Linked DNA regions of Homo sapiens: region 1 is linked to region 2. The links are contacts of gene promoters, found by promoter capture Hi-C in human tissues and cell types (Jung and others, 2019). All regions are on one chromosome and are shown on one strand. The core of a region is centred on a gene start or on the middle of the fragment in contact, and the rest is flanking DNA. Distances in the headings are between cores, read along the strand shown. Region 1 overlaps LOC124900275 (extensin-like). Region 2 holds the start of IER5L (immediate early response 5 like).

Region 1 (7,603 bases), core at 2,571-5,070, 330 kb after region 2:
AGGCACTAGCCTTGGGAAGCTGATAGGGGGTCCCTGCAGGAGAGACAAAGAACACTGCCCACCCCCCCGGGGGAGCCTGCGCCCCTCACCGGAAAGAGAAGCAGGGGGGAGCAGAGGGAGCTTGCAGCCCCACACGCAGGGCTGCCAGAAGGCCATACATAATTCATTGCCAAATGGGGCTGCGGGCGGCTCTCCGCGGCGTGCGCTGGGGGCTCACTCTGCGCCTGGCACTTCGCTGACTGCGCCTCACACGTTGCCTCATTGCATCTTCATGGATTTGCAGGGTGTGACCCTTCCCCCTGTTTTACCCAGGGGGATCCTGAGGCTCAGAGGATGGGGCCACCGTGCTAGTCACACAGCCTCTCTGTGGCCAAGCTGGGCCTCGGGCCAGCAGATTCGGCCCCCAGCGGCCCCCATTCACTGCCTCTCTGCTGAGGGAAAAGACGGGCCTGGGGAGCGGGTGGGAGGCACAAAGGAGACCCCGCTCTGAGACAGGCTGCAGAAGAGGGAGCTGGGTCTCAGCAGGGCTGGGGAAGGCTCTGGCCCCAGCCCTCCGCCCAACCCCCTGCCCTCCTCTCCTGGAGGAGATGCTCCCCAAATTAGCCATCATGAGCGCTGGCTCTGGGGGTTGGGCGTTGGGGAGCAGTTTGCTCAGCTGTAAAATGGGAATAACAGAAGCCGTCCCTGGGACTATGAGATCAAGGTGCTCAAGAAAAGTGGTGTCTGCTGAGGGGAAAAGCCAGTCCCAAAAGGTTGCATACTCTCATTCTGTTTATTTGTTTTTGTTTTTGAGACAGGGTCTCGCCCTGTCACCCAGGCTGGAGTACAGTGGCGCAATATGGGCTCACTGCAACCTCCACCTCCTGGGCTCAAGTGATCCTCCCATCTCAGACCCTCAAGGAGCTGGGGCTACAGGCACGTGCCACCGTGTCCGGCTAATTTTTGTATTTTTTGTAGAGACAGGGTTTCACCATGTTGCCCAGGCTGGTCTCAAACTCCTGAGCTCAGGTGATCCGCCTGCCTTGGCCTGCGATAAAATTGCACAGAAGTAAATACACACACGTGAGGATACGGAAAACCGGGGAAACCTGAGCAAGAGCAGTCAGACCCCGGCTGTGATGGCGCCCAGTAGTTCTGCGAGATGTTACCATTGGGGAAACTGAGTGAAGGCGGGTACCTGGGATCCCTCTGTTTTCTTTTTTGTTGTTGTTGTTATTTTGAGATGAAGTTTCCCTCTTGTTGCCCAGGCTGGGTGATCCACCTGCCTCGGCCTCCCAAAGTGCTGGGATTACACGCGTGAGCCACTGTGCCCAGCCTCTCTGTTTTATTTCTTCTTTTTTTTTTTTTTTTTTTGGAGACGCTCTGTCGCCCAGGCTGGAGTGCAGTGGCACGATATTGGCTCACTGCAAGCTCCGCCTCCTGGGTTCACACCATTCTCCTGCCTCAGCCTCCCGAGTAGCTGGGACTACAGGCGCCCGCCACCTCGCCCGTCTAATTTTTTGTATTTTTAGTAGAGGCGGGGCTTCACCGTGTTAGCCAGGATGGTCTCAATCTCCTGACCTCGTCATCCGCCCGTCTCGGCCTCCCATAGTGCTGGGATTACAGGCATGAGCCACCACGCCCGGCTGTTTTATTTCTTATAACTGTACAGGAATCTACAATGATTGTAACAAAAATTTCAATTAAGGCCACTCTAGGCACATGGCCTGTGGGGTAGCCCTGCTCAACAAGAAGCCGTCAAAAAAATGTTTTTTAATTAAAAAATTTCTTCAATTAAAAAGCGTTATCTTCCTCTGCCCGGAAAGGGTTAAGTGAGTCACTGCAGTTAGCTCCCCTTCCCCCACAACCACCTAGACCAGGCCAGGGACCAGCGGGCAATTGCCTGGCAGCTGGAGTTTTCCTCCACTGTGGACTGTACTTCTTGCGTCACTCTGAATGTCTCCAGTCTTTATTCCAGAATGTTCTGGTCCTCTCCCACTTTTCCAAGGACAGGAATTCCCTAGTGGGGCTCCAGAAGAGGCTCTGGAGGAGAACAAGAAAGGCCCTTGTCATCCATTGGCCTCAGGCTGGGAAATCTCGGTTCCACTCCCAGCCCAGCCTCAATATTAGGTTGTCAGTCTGGAGTCTGAGAGCCATGCCCCCACCCCCTTAGTCCTTCACCTCCAGGAGAGTTGGGGATACTGGAAAGAATGTTGAGTGTCAGAGCCCCTCTCAGTGGCTCACGCCTGAAATCCCAGCCCTTTGGGAGGCTGAGGCAGGTGGATTGCTTGAGGCCAAGAGTTCAAGACCAGCCTGGCCAACGCGACGAAACCCTGACTCTACTAAAAATACAAAAATTAGCTGGGCGTGGTGGCACACACCTGTAATCCCAGCAGCTCGGGAGGCTGAGGCAGGAGAATTGTTTGAACCTGAGAGGTGGAGGTTGCAGTGAGCTGAGATCACAACACTGCACTCAAAAAGTAGTTAATTAATTTAGTTTAATTAAAAAAGAATATTGAGTGTCAGGCAATCTGGGTAGAACCCATTGTGTTTCTACAGGATAGAATCTGCTGTGTTCTCTAGCGGAACTTCCGGATCACCTTCACCGTATGACTCTAGACAATCCCTGTCCACTCTTCAGTTTTAGATGCCCCATTCAAAGAATGAAAGAATTGTCCTAGATGATCCTTTAGGGTCTTCCAGGCTGATGACAAGGGGGACCTGGCCCCTCTGCTGCTGGCCAAAGAGGACTTTACTTCCCATTCCGTGTGGTTGAACAAGAATTGCTGGGCTCCAGTCCTGCCTTTGGCCCTTCCCTACATGTGACCTTGGGCCCTCTTTGCCTTTCAGAATCAATACAGTGAGAGAGTTAACACAAGCTCAGGTTAGTAAGTCATTCAACAAACATTTACTGAGCGCTTATCAAATACTGCATGCTGGAGTGGACACTGGAGAAAAAGGTGAGGAGAAGGCCGGGCGCAGTGGCTCGTGACTGTAATTCCAGCACTTTGAGGGGCAGAGGCAGGTGGATTACCTGAGGTCAGGAGTTTGAGACCAGCCTGGCCAACATGGCAAAACCCCGTCTCTACTAAAAATACAAATATTAGCCAGGCATGGTGGTGCATATCTGTAGTCCCAGCTACTCAGGAGGCTGAGCAGGAGAATCACTTGAACTCAGGAGGTGGAGCGTGCAGTGGGCCGAGATTGCACCTCTGCACTCCAGCCTGGGCAACATAGTGAGACTCTGTCTCAAATAAATAAATAAAGTGAGGAGAAAAAAATACCATCTCTGTCTTCACAGAACTTATAGTTTGAGAGGGGAGAATCCCACAAGTAAATTATAAATCTCAGCTGAGATTATGCAAAGAAGCAAAGGCCGGACGTGGTGGCTCACGCCTGTAATCCCAGCACTTTGGGAGGCCGAGACGGGCGGATCATGAGGTCAGGAGATTGAGACCATCCTGGCTAACACGGTGAAACCCTGTCTCTACTAAAAATACAAAAAAATTAGCTGGGCGTGGTGGCGGGCGTCTGTAGTTCCAGCTACTCGGGAGGCTGAGGCAGGAGGATGGCGTGAACCCAGGAGCACAGGTTGCAGTGAGCCGAGATGGCGCCACTGCACTCCAGCCTGGGCGACAGAGCGAGACTCTGTCTCAAAAAAAAAAAAAAAAAAGGAAGCAAAGTGCCCAGCTGGGATGGTGGTTTCAGAGGCCACAGTGGGAGCTTCCCAGAGAAGGGATGATTGAGCTAAGTCTAAGCAAAAGGGGTGGTCAGGGCAGCAGCTGCTCCAAAACAGGGGCTGGGGGCTTATGTGGAGAGAGAAGACATGGAGAGACCATGCCCAGAAGGAGGCGGCGGCTTCAGTGAACAGTGCAGGGGAGCAGGTCCGAGGAGGCCGCCTACCAGGGGAAGGAGTCTCATCTCCATCCTAGACAAAAAAAGGATCTTTTGAGATGCATTAAGCAGGGGAGTCACAGATTGGATTTGTGTTTTGAGAATCTCCTGCTTACCTAGAGAAGAAGGGCATCTCCTGGGCCCTCACTGTTGCCTTAAATGATTTTTATTGTGTATTACTTAAACATGTGCAAGCATAAAATGAGATATAAACTCCTTGTAGCTCTTATACAAGCATCAGACCAAGACAAATTGACCCATCACGTACAAAATCGATTCAAATCAGATTAATTTTATGTGACATGTTATTATGCCTTTTGTCTGAAACCCTGCCACCACCCACAGTGCAATTATGGCCCAACCACTGTGGTGTTCTGAATTTGTGGGACAGAGAATATTGGCCTTTTAAACACGTGCATGCATGCATTTGCGTGTGCGCACACACACACATCCCAAATGATTTTTTCCCACTATATATGAAGAACTCCTACAAACCAAAAAGAAAAAGGCAGACAATTCAAGAGAAAAATGGGGGAGGGCTTGCATTAAAGTACTTCATAACAAGAGTACTTAGGAGGCCAACAAATACACGAAAAGCTGCTAGCTTCATGACTCATGGGGGTGGCTTGGTCAGTTCAGGATACTGTAACAAAATACCTTAGACTGGGAAATTTATAAACAACGGAATTTATTGCTCACAGTTCTGGAGGCTGGGAAGTCCAAGATCAAGGCAGCAGTAGATCCGGTGCCTGAGCCCGTTCCCTGCTTCAAACATGGCACCTTCTTGCTGTATCCTCACATGGTGGAAGGGGGAAGACAGTTCTCTGGGGCCTCTTTTATAAGGGCAGTTATCCAATTCACAAGGATAGAGCCCTCATGACCTAATCACCTTTCAAAGATCCCCATCTTCTAACACCTTCTAACACCATCACCTTGGTGATTAGGTCTTTTTGTTGTTGTTGTTGTTGAGATGGACTCTCACTCTGTTGCCTAGGCTGGAGTGCAGTGGCGTAATCTTGGTTCACTGCAACCTCTGCCTCCCGGGCTGAAGTGATTATCCTGTCTCAGCCTCCCAAGTGGCTGGGATTACAGGCGTGTGCCACCATGCCCGGCTAATTTTCATATTTTTAGTAGAGACAGGGTTTCACCATGTTGGTCAGGCTGGTCTCGAACTCCTGACCTCATGATCCGCCCACTTCGTCCTCCCAAAATGCTGGGATTACAGGCATGAGCCACTGCACCCAGCCGATTAAGTCTTAACGTATGAGTTTTTGGGAGAAACTCAAACATTCGGACAATAGCAAGGAGAATACAAAACCACAGTGAGCTACCGCTTCAGACACCAGAGAAGTTTAAGTGAAAAAGACTGGCAATACCAAGTGCTGATGAGGATATGGAGCAACCAGAACTCTCAGACATTGCTGATGGGAATCTAAATTAGTATAACCACCACGAAAGCATCCGTAAGGTTTAATTGTGTTGAACACACCCTGCCCTCTGACCAAGCATTTCCACTCCTGGGCATACAGGCAAAAGAAATGCATCCACGTGTTCATCAAAAGATGTAACCTGTGCCAGGTGAGGTGGTTCATGCCTGTAATCCCAGCACATCGGGAGGCCAAGGAGGGAGGATTGCTTGAGCCCAGAAGTTCGAGAGCAGCCTAGGCAACAAGGCAAAACCTCGTCTCTACTAAAAAGTAGCCAGGCATGATGGTATATGCCTGTAGTCCCAGCTACTCAGGAGGCCAAGGCATGCAGATTGATTGAACCCGGAAGGTGGAGGCTACAGTGAATTGTGATCTCGCCACTGCACTCCAGCCTGGGTGACAGAGCAAGATCTTGTCTCAATTAAAAAAAAAGGAAGAAAGAAAGACATAACCTGGAATATTCACACCAACACTATTCAGGATAGCCCTAAACTGGAAAGAATCTGAATATCCTCCGGCTTTAGAACAGAGAGAAATTATAGACTATTCATTCATACAGGGGATGATTGATCAGCTTTAAGAATAAACAAACCGTACACAACAATATAGATGAATCTACAACCTTAATGTGCAAAATAGTTCACATATATAAAGGACAAAAACAGGCAAAACTACTCCATGGTGTTAGAAATAGGGGTAGAGGTTACCCTCATGCGGCAGGAGGGTTAGTGATAGGGGATTTGGAAGAGGAGGAGCCCAATGGACTGAACAGCTGAGCTGGAAACAGCAATTTGTTCCTTAAAGTTCTGAACCCAACTGTTATCCAGCATGGAGTCTGTCTGGAGAGGCCAGATGTGGGGCCTCTCACAGGGGAATGAGAAGTGCCTCTCAGGGTCCCACCCATGATCCCCCTTTCCTTGCCCACACAACCACCAACTGGCAAGTAGTAACCCAGGACCTGTAGCCCCCACTGGCTTGACACAGAGCATAATGCAAGCTTTTCCTGCTCCAGGTCCTGGACACCACTTTGCCCTTTGCCCCACACGTACAGCCCCCTGACCAAAAGCTGGGTACTCTGGCTTGACTAGAGGGAGCTAGACTCCAGGAATAAGTAAGGAGCTGGGCTTCCACGCTAGAGAACAAGAGCTTCTCTGGGGAAAGGGGCTTCCCATGAAGCCCTGGGGCACTGGGAGATTAATGGGCAGACCTCTGGCCTCAGCTTCCAGGGAAGGGGAGGGTGTGGGCCAACATGCGGTGGCTACACTGACCACAAGCCGATGACCCCAGCCAGCCTCAGGATGTCTCAGCTCTAGGCATGGTTTTTCGTTTTGTTTTGTCGTGTTTTGTTTTTGAGATGGAACCTCGCTCTGTCGCCTAGGCTGGAGTGAAGTGGCACCATCTCGTCTCCCTGCAACCTCCACCTCCTGGGTTCAAGCGATTCTCCTGCCTCAGCCTCCTGAGTAGCTGAGATTACATGTGCGTGCCACCTTGCCCAGCTAATTTTTGTATTTTTAGTAGAGATAGGGTTTCATCATGTTAGCTAGGCTGGTCTCAAACTCCTGACCTCAAGTGATCTGCCTGCCTCAGCCTCCCAAAGTGCAAGGATTACAGGCATGAGCCACCATGCCCGGCATAGGCATGGTTTTGACAATCTGTCTCTTTGTGCCCTGGCTCCTTCTCCAACTCCTCTTTGGAGGAGGCACAGGAGGAGGGGTCATTTCACTGTTCCTGAAAAGTAGACATATAACCTACATGCAACTGCCAGGTGATAAGGGCCCCATCTGTCTGGCATGACGTTGGAGGTCCACAAAGGCTGATTAGATGAATGCTCAGCTCTGGGGCCTCCCCACAGAGCTCACAGACAGGCGTGAAGGAAAGCAGGACTCTTATTAGAATATGTTCAGAGTTTTCACTGAAGAAGCCTCCTGTGTGGGCCAGGCACTGTGCTCAGTGCTTTGATTCACAGTCTCATTTAATTCTCACCATTTACAGACAAGAATTCAGCTAAGATCCTTTTCAATCAAGTCTGGCAATATCTGCCTTTCAATGGCAGTGCCTAGTCCTTTCATATGTAATATACTTATCATTATGGGTGGGTTTAAGTTTTATCATCTTGCTATTTGTTATCTATTTGTCCCCCCTCTTTTGTTCCTCCTTTACTGCCTTCTATTTGGTTGAGACTTAATAAAATATTTTATTCCATCTTCTCTACTTACTTTTTAGCTATGCCTCCTTATATTTTTGGTTGCTGGAGTGTTACAATATGCATTCTTCAATATCCAGTCTACTTTCCAATAATATTA
Region 2 (7,309 bases), core at 1,867-4,366:
CGGGGCAGGGAGTGCGGGTGGCCCTGAAACCCCCGGCGTCCCCCGGCTGCTTTCCCCGGCCACAGAGAGCTCAGACTCGAGGCCGACCAGGCCCTGCGCCTGTGCCTGGGCAGGAAATGTGCTGGAGGCTGGCTCCGCTTCCCGCTGGAGACCCCGGGGCGGCCAGTTCCCGTGGGGGACAGGACCCCCCTGGAGCGGGGGCGGCCGAGAGACGCGCAGCACCCGCTTCATCCCCAGCCACCAACATCACCCCCCATTCTCCCACCGCCGACCTTGCGGATGTGGGTAGATCCCGCCCGCCCAGGCCGAAGAGAACTGGGGTTTACATGGGGGTGGGCGGGGTCTCTCCCCACACCTCTCTATCCTCTCTGACGCCCCCAGACATCTGAAAACAAGGCACCACCATCTTCTGTAATCGACTTTTTATTAAGATTATAAATTTAAACAATCTGAACAGTTTTACCCGGTGATATACAATTCAGTATGCACAAAAATACAGGGTAATGAGGGAAAAGGGCCGAGAAAGGAAGGATTGGCAACTCGTTTTGGAGTCCACACGGTGCTGATGGCAGAGAACCAGAGGGGCTGCAGACGAACCCCACCTTTTTACAACAAAAGGCTTTTAAATTAAACAAATCTATCGAGCTGAAGACACAGGACGGGGTTCTCACAGGCTCGAACAATGCTGGTTTCATGAAATGCAACCGAAGGCTGAACCAAGGCAGTGCAACTTAGAAGCACACACACAAACACCACAGCTGACCAGGAACTTAGTGCAAAGTCTCCAACGCAGTCGGCGGTCCCGGCCCCTCCCTCCCCCGGGGCCGCCGGGGATCCAGGTGAAGGAATTGACTTCCTTTTTTGTTTAGTGAGGACCGCAGTGCTAGGCATGATGGGAAATGTAGTCCGCCGTGCCCGCCCCCCACCCCTTACCCAGTGTCCGAGAGTGTCGGGGTGTCAGGCGCCACCCCCGAGTCCGGGAGACGGGTGGAGGAGGGGAGGAGAACGGAGCCAGAGGGGCGGGGAGAAGAGGGGTTCAAGACACCCGCCCCGGGAAGAAAAGAAAAAAAAAGTTGAAGTGTTTTCATTTCTGCCTTCTCATTTTGAGAACTTTGGAGTCCGCCCCCAGAGAGGAAATGTGACCCAAACGTCCCTTTCGGAGATAGAGTTTGCCTTTGTTTTTGCTCAGAATTTCACAAGACCCATTCCTCACCCCACAGAGGGACTCGGGAGAGCGGAACGTCGGGCTTCCCGGGTCTGACAACTGATTGGAATCGGCTTCCCAGGTCCGGCGCCCTCCTGAGCTGCGCCCCCGGCGCGCCCCGGCGGCCAGGGCGCCCTGCCTCGCCCCCGGCTGCCCGGCACCTCCTCCGGGCAGCAGCCCTCCCTCACGTGGTAGGCTCCTCGCTAAACACCACTGCAATCACTACAATAAAAAGAAAAAAAGGAGTAGGAGAAACACAAAGCATACTTAAATAGGCGCTTTTTCTCTCTGCAAAAATAAAGTCCAAGATTTTAGATTTCTTTTTTTTTTATTTTACAATTTATAAAACATCAGCCGCCTGCCCCCGCTCGCCCCCAGCTCAGCCCCGAGTGGCCCGGCGCCCGCTCGTTCCCTCCTCTCGCCCCTTTGCCGAGTCTTTGTCTGGCCCCAGCCCCGCGGGGCCCCGGGTCCCTGTGCCCTCGGGGGTCCCTAGAAGGCGACAATGGCTCGAGTCCAGGCGCCGAGGCTGGCGAGCGCCTGCTTGGCGCACAGCTGCCCGTTGAGCGGCGGCGGCTGCTCCGAGGAGTCCGGCTGTCGGCTCACCAGCCCCGAGAAGCCGGAGCCAAAGATGGAGATCAAGTTTGAGATGTTGGACGCGTCCGGGGACGAGTCCGGGCAGAAGTCCTCGAAGCGGGCGCGCTTGCAGGGGGCGAACGGGGCGCCCCCGGGGGGCTCGGCCCCCAGCCCGCCCGCATCCTCCTCGTCGTCTTCCTCCTCCTCCTGGCCAGGGTAATACTTGCGCTTGCAGCCGGCGGCGGACGCCAGGCCCGGTCCCGGAGCGCCCTGGCCACAGCAGGGGCAGTGGGCGGAGGCGCAGCAGTCCTGGTGCAAGTAGCCGTTCTCCACCGTGGTCACCACGTGAGTGTCTAGGTCCAGCACGGTGGTCTGGCTGCTGCAGTGCAAGCCGAAGTCCGAAGGGGTAGGGTATGCGCCCCGGTAGAAGCCGGGGGAGGAGGCGGGGGCCGGGGAGGCGGGCGGAGAAGCGGCGGCGGCCGGAGGGGCGGCCCCTGGGGGCGCGGAGCAGGCGGCCGGGGCGCGAGGGTCCCGCGGGCAGAGCGCAGCGGGCGCGGGCGGCGGCAGCGGCAGCGGCAGCGGCGCAGGACCCGGCTGCAGAGGCTCCAAGGGCTGCCCGCGGTGGGGCGCGCCGTGCGGCGGCTGGAGCGCGGCGCACCCGGGCAGCTCCGAGAGCGCCCCCGCGCCGCCCGCGGGCGCTCCGGCCGCCGCCGCCGCCGCGCAGCCCCTGGGCGCCGGGTGCTGGTGCTGGTGCAGCTGCTGCTGGAGGTGCAGCTGGTGGAGCTGGTGGAGCTGGTGCAGCTGGTGCCGGGCGGCCGGCTCGCGCGCCTCCGCGTCCCCGCCGCCGCCAAGTTGGAGCGGGCCGAAGTCGGCCGCGCTGGCCGGCATGCCCGGCGCCGCGTACGCTAGGTGCTGGTGCTGGTGGTGGGGCGGCTGCTGCTGTTGCTGCTGCTGCTGGCGCCGGTAGAGCTCGGCGTAGCGCTCGCTCAGGTAGAGCTGGCGCGCGTTGCGGAGCACGTAGGACACCAGGAGGTTCTTGTGCAGCTTGATGCCGCCGCGCTGGGTTCGGGAGCTGTGGATCTTGCGCAGGGAGATGCTGATCAGGCTCTGGGCGTCCAGGGCGCACTCCATGCTCCCGCGGAGACGGCGGCGGAGCAGCCGCCGCCGCTGCTGCTGTTAACGCTTCTGCTGTTTCTGCCTCCAGCCGGCCGCCGGGGCGCGCCGGGCAGGGGTAACGGAGTCCGGGTCAGAGGTTCGGCTGCGCTCCGAAAGGAGCCGCCACCATGCGCCGCGCGCCACCCGCGGGCTCGCGCTCCCCAGACGGCGCCAAAGCAATGAGTCTCGGCCGGCCCCGGCCCCAGCTATTTAGCCGGGTGCCCGGGCCCCGCCCCACATGAGAAGAGCCAATAGGAGCTCTGAGAGTCTCCTGAGTGACAGGCGCAGCCCGCCCCGGGGCTACTCGGCTGGCCAATCAGACCAAGGCGGTTCCTTTGTGCTATTCAAATACCGAACGGACCCCGGGCCTCCAACGCCGCTGCTGCCTCGAATGTTCTCCTGGGGCTGCCGCGCCGCGCGGGACTCGGAGCCGCCGGGGCCGCAGTCTGCAGCATAGGTCGCCTGGCAGCGGCCACGTTGAAGCCCGCGGCTGCCCTCGCCTTAGGTCCCGGGAGCCGGGGGTCGGCTCACCTGAGTGCTGCGGCGACGGCTCCTCCCCTTTCCGCACGGCTGGGCCTCACCTGCGGCAGGTGCGCGCCGCTCATCGCTCCCCCAGCGGCGCGGCGCCTCCACCTGCGCACCTGTCGCCCCCCCGAGTGACCCGCGGGAGTCAAGGCCTCTCTACAGGAGGCTGGTGGAGCCGCCGGCTTGACACTGGGGAACATCAAAGGAGCGAGGTTTTGGGGGTACCCTCTACCGCAGAGAATGTAGGGCCTGACTCCTTGACTTTTTGGTCGAGGGGCCTCTGGGAATGCTTGCGGAAGGGAAGTCCTCCCCATTTGTCTGACAGGAAAAACCAAAACATCGTGAATTTTGACCTTCTCTGATGGAGAGAGTTCCGAGGCCAGGCATGACCCAGGGAGTGTGTGGACCTCGCGACCAGCTGAGGCTCAAAAGCGTCCTGGGAGCCGAAACGCTGAGTGCCCTAATCACCAGCTCTGTAACCTTTCCTTTCGTGCCTAACTAATAATAATGACAATAGGGACTATTATTATGGGCCTAATATGGGGCAGGCCCTTCCCAGCAACTCCCCAATGCCTCACTCTAACGTTTGTAGAGGAGGGGCCTGAGGCTCGGAGGAGTGGAGTGACTTGGGGAACCACACAGTTCCCAGGGGGCGGAGCTAGGAGCTGGGACAGGACCCTGCGCTCGAGACGGGAGGTGAATACCAAAGGCCCGGGGACTCACCGACTTAACTTCTGTTGACACAGCTTTCCTTCTTATCCTGAACCCTTCAGGTCCCAGCTGGGGACTGAGACAGTGGGAGAAGAGAGGGACAGGATTGCTGATTCCTGGGGGCGCTCTATCTGGACCAAGAGGCCTGAAGGGGGCTGGTTGCTGCTCCCAGGGGTTTCAAAGGTGCCTGGGGTGGGGGCTGCCCAGACAGCTCTGGAGGCTCTTGGAAATGGTCTGGAGGTTTGCCTGAGGAGGGTCCATGAGTGGATCCCTGAAGGATGAACGAGGTCTGCAGAGTCTCCCAGAGATAGGTGGACCTTGTGGGGCTGGACTCAGGGGGGAGGCCCATGACCAGACGTCCTGCTGCTTCACCGCCTCCTCAGGGGATCTTCTGAGTCTCTGCTTTTTGGGGCTTCCTTCTGAGTTCTCAGCACCTACTTCATCCCTTGGTGGGAGTGGAGAGACCCAGTAGCCCACCCTGTGGTCTCTGGGTCTTTCTTTAGTCTTAAGAATTTCCAAGATTTCTGCAAAAGTTTCTTAGCATCTACTCCATGCCAGGCGTTGAGAGTGAAGACAGAGTTAGCGGGTGTTTACTTCATTTTTCCGATGAGGAAACTCGGACACTGACAGCGTGAGACTTGCCCAAGATCACATGGCCCCAGGGCTGGTGCTGTGTCCTTCCCTTGGCCCCCTCGAACAATCTCAAACGCTTTGGGCCCCTGTGACCAATAGCACCTCTCCAGGCCTCCTCCCAGAGAAGCCAGGATTGAAATTTCAGGGGACTTCAGATAAAGGATGTCCTACCTACATTTTATTGGTGATACAGACCTACAGGCTGTGGAACTTGCTCAGGTGATAACACGTAGAAGTAAAAATACACTGCCCTTCACTTCCCTGGTGCCTGTCTTAAAGGCACACAAAGACTTTATTTATGGCCGGGCGCGGTGGCTCACGCCTGTAATCCCAGCACTTCGGGAGGCCGAGGCGGACAGATCACGAGGTCAGGAGATCAAGAGCTTCCTGGCTAACACAGTGAAACCCTGTCTCTACTAAAAATCACAAAAAATTAGCTGGGCGTGGTGGCGGGTGCTTGTAGTCCCAGCTATTTGGGAGGCTGGGACAGGAGAATGGTGTGAACCCGGGAGGCGGAGCTTGCAGTGAGCCCAGATGGCGCCACTGCACTCCAACCTGGGCAACAGAGTGAGACTCCGTCTCAAAAAAAAAAAAAAAAAAAGACTTTATTTATTTATGTTTGAAGTTCACCTTTGAGACATCACTAGCATGCAGAGGGATCTGGGAGCTCTTACCGGCTTTACAGCTGTGAGGACTCTGTATGCAACAGTGAAGTCTGGGATCCACAGTGTCTGGCACACTGCAAGCCCACAGCTCCAGAAAATATTATCAGCACTGATTTGGGGTCTTCTTTCTGTCATGGCCCAGTGTTTATTGGGGGAAACTAAGAGTTTACACACCTTGCTTGAGGTCACATACCAGCAAGGGGTGGAGTCAAGATCTGAGCCCAAACCCATCTGTTTCCAGGGTGGGAGTTCACCAGAGGTTCCTCCAAATCAGCTTCCGCTGTCAGTGGAGCCAAGGCCAGTTCTCAGGGCCCAGCTCTTGGTGAATATGATCTTGGTTTGATCGACCCCCACCGCTTTACTGCCAAGTGCTGTGGGACCAGGGCCCATAAGGAAGCAAATGTCAGTCTCAGCCTCAGCCCCTCATTCAGAGCTGTACCCCAGAACATGAATCTGGGGGCCCAGATGGGGAAACAGGGCAGGGATGGAGGTGGATTTCCACCTACAGGTTGGGGGCAGAAGGACCAGGCCCCTCACATGGGCAGCTCCTCGTGGCACCTCCTAGTCCCCCACAAGGTGAGTTTGGGGATCTTTGAAGTTCCTTTCATTCACTGGGGCCAGCTGAGAAGTGGTCAGCCTCTTCTGGGTGGCCCCATCCTCTGGGTCTGTTGGGGGCCCACACTCTGTCTCTCCTCTTTCTCAAGAACTGAGAAGTGGGCTAATGGGGAGGGCTCAGCAGTTGTGCAGCTTCATAAAAACCCTTGGTCTTTTTTGAGGTGGGCTGGGAAGGGGAGGCACCACAGCTGTCGTCAGGAAAACCTTGCTGAAGGAGGCAATGGAACAGCTGCACTATTTGGTGCCCGGGGGAGCGGTGTGGCTTGGGGGGCACATAGTAGGAATTCACAAACGTTTATAGAATGGGTGGTTTGCATGCCAGGCTTCTGCTGGGATGCATAAAGGTTCAGGGCAGCCAGTGTGTGCATGTGTGTGAGAATGTATGTGCCCACGTGTCAGGAGAAGGTACCCTCAGATCTGCACCCCACGAAGGGGAATAGGCCCAAACGAGACAAGGATGAAGGGCTGGCCTTATTTCTCTGTACACCTGAGAAAGGTTGGGGATCTCACCTTTCCCCCTGGAGCTGGGGAGGTTACATCTGGCACAGAGTCACTGCTCCCTGGAGGAAGTTAATTAATGCCTCAGTATTTACCAAGTGTCTGCTGGGGCAGCATGGAGCTGGGGCATGGAACCGCTGGGGACCTGGGCTCCCATCAAACCCCAGGTGGTGTCAGCCCTCCATCAGAGCAGTTAACACTTCACAAGTGCACATATGTCTGTGGACACCTTCTGGTCACCCGGGCTTGGTGGCAGGGGACATGGTTAGGAAGGCCCCTGATCCACAGTGGGATTTGCCCTGTTGGCTCCCGGGGGTTAACTTGGGGAAGGGGTCCATAGGCAAAAAACTGTATTGGGGTGTTGTGTTGGAGGAAGTGGGAGAGAAACTTGGAATTCACACATTCATTCATTTTTCATTTGCCTGAGAGATACTTCCAGAATCCTTCTCTGGAGTCCCTGGGAATGGGTCAGGGAACAAGATGTGATTCTGCCTTCAGAAGGCCACGATTCAGAGGGAAGCAGACAAGCTAGATAGACCAGAAAATACTGAGAGCTAAGTCTGTGATTGGAAGGACAGGGCTGGAGGAGGGCAGGTCCAAGGTCCAAGGCTGGTCTGGGAAGTGAGAAGCTGAGACCTGGAGACCAGGAAGAGGGGGGATCTTCTAGCAGCGAGAACAGCAACGAAGGGGCCCAGCCAAAGGCCGGGTCCACAGTGGGCCCTGACCTGTG

The links. The method cuts DNA at HindIII sites, captures the fragments that hold promoters and counts their contacts. A contact is called where the count stands out against the background at its distance.
Region 1: a fragment that was not itself captured here is called in contact with the fragment with the promoter of IER5L in region 2 in 3 of the 25 tissues and cell types used here (IMR-90 fibroblasts, dorsolateral prefrontal cortex and spleen).

Annotation. Positions count from the first base shown.
Region 1 is chr9:129,505,169-129,512,771 of GRCh38, forward strand. All of the region lies in intron 3 of LOC124900275 (extensin-like), which reads left to right. The region is part of intron 4 of LINC00963 (long intergenic non-protein coding RNA 963); the gene reads left to right. Among named protein-coding and RNA genes, the nearest start is that of LINC00963, 20 kb to the left of the region's middle. The HindIII fragment of the contact is 8,439 bases long and covers 1-7,603 here.
Region 2 is chr9:129,175,145-129,182,453 of GRCh38, forward strand. IER5L (immediate early response 5 like) reads right to left here and starts at 3,117. Exons shown (of 1, transcript NM_203434.3): 1 at 408-3,117. The coding sequence starts at 2,908. The coding sequence ends at 1,694. LOC105376289 (a long non-coding RNA gene) reads left to right here and starts at 6,627. Exons shown (of 2, transcript XR_007061813.1): 1 at 6,627-7,309. RefSeq lists enhancers at 1-682, 612-671, 3,046-3,340, 3,078-4,001, 4,002-4,925 and silencers at 209-308, 882-931, 1,272-1,421, 2,372-2,711, 2,942-3,321. The HindIII fragment of the contact is 19,795 bases long and covers 1-7,309 here.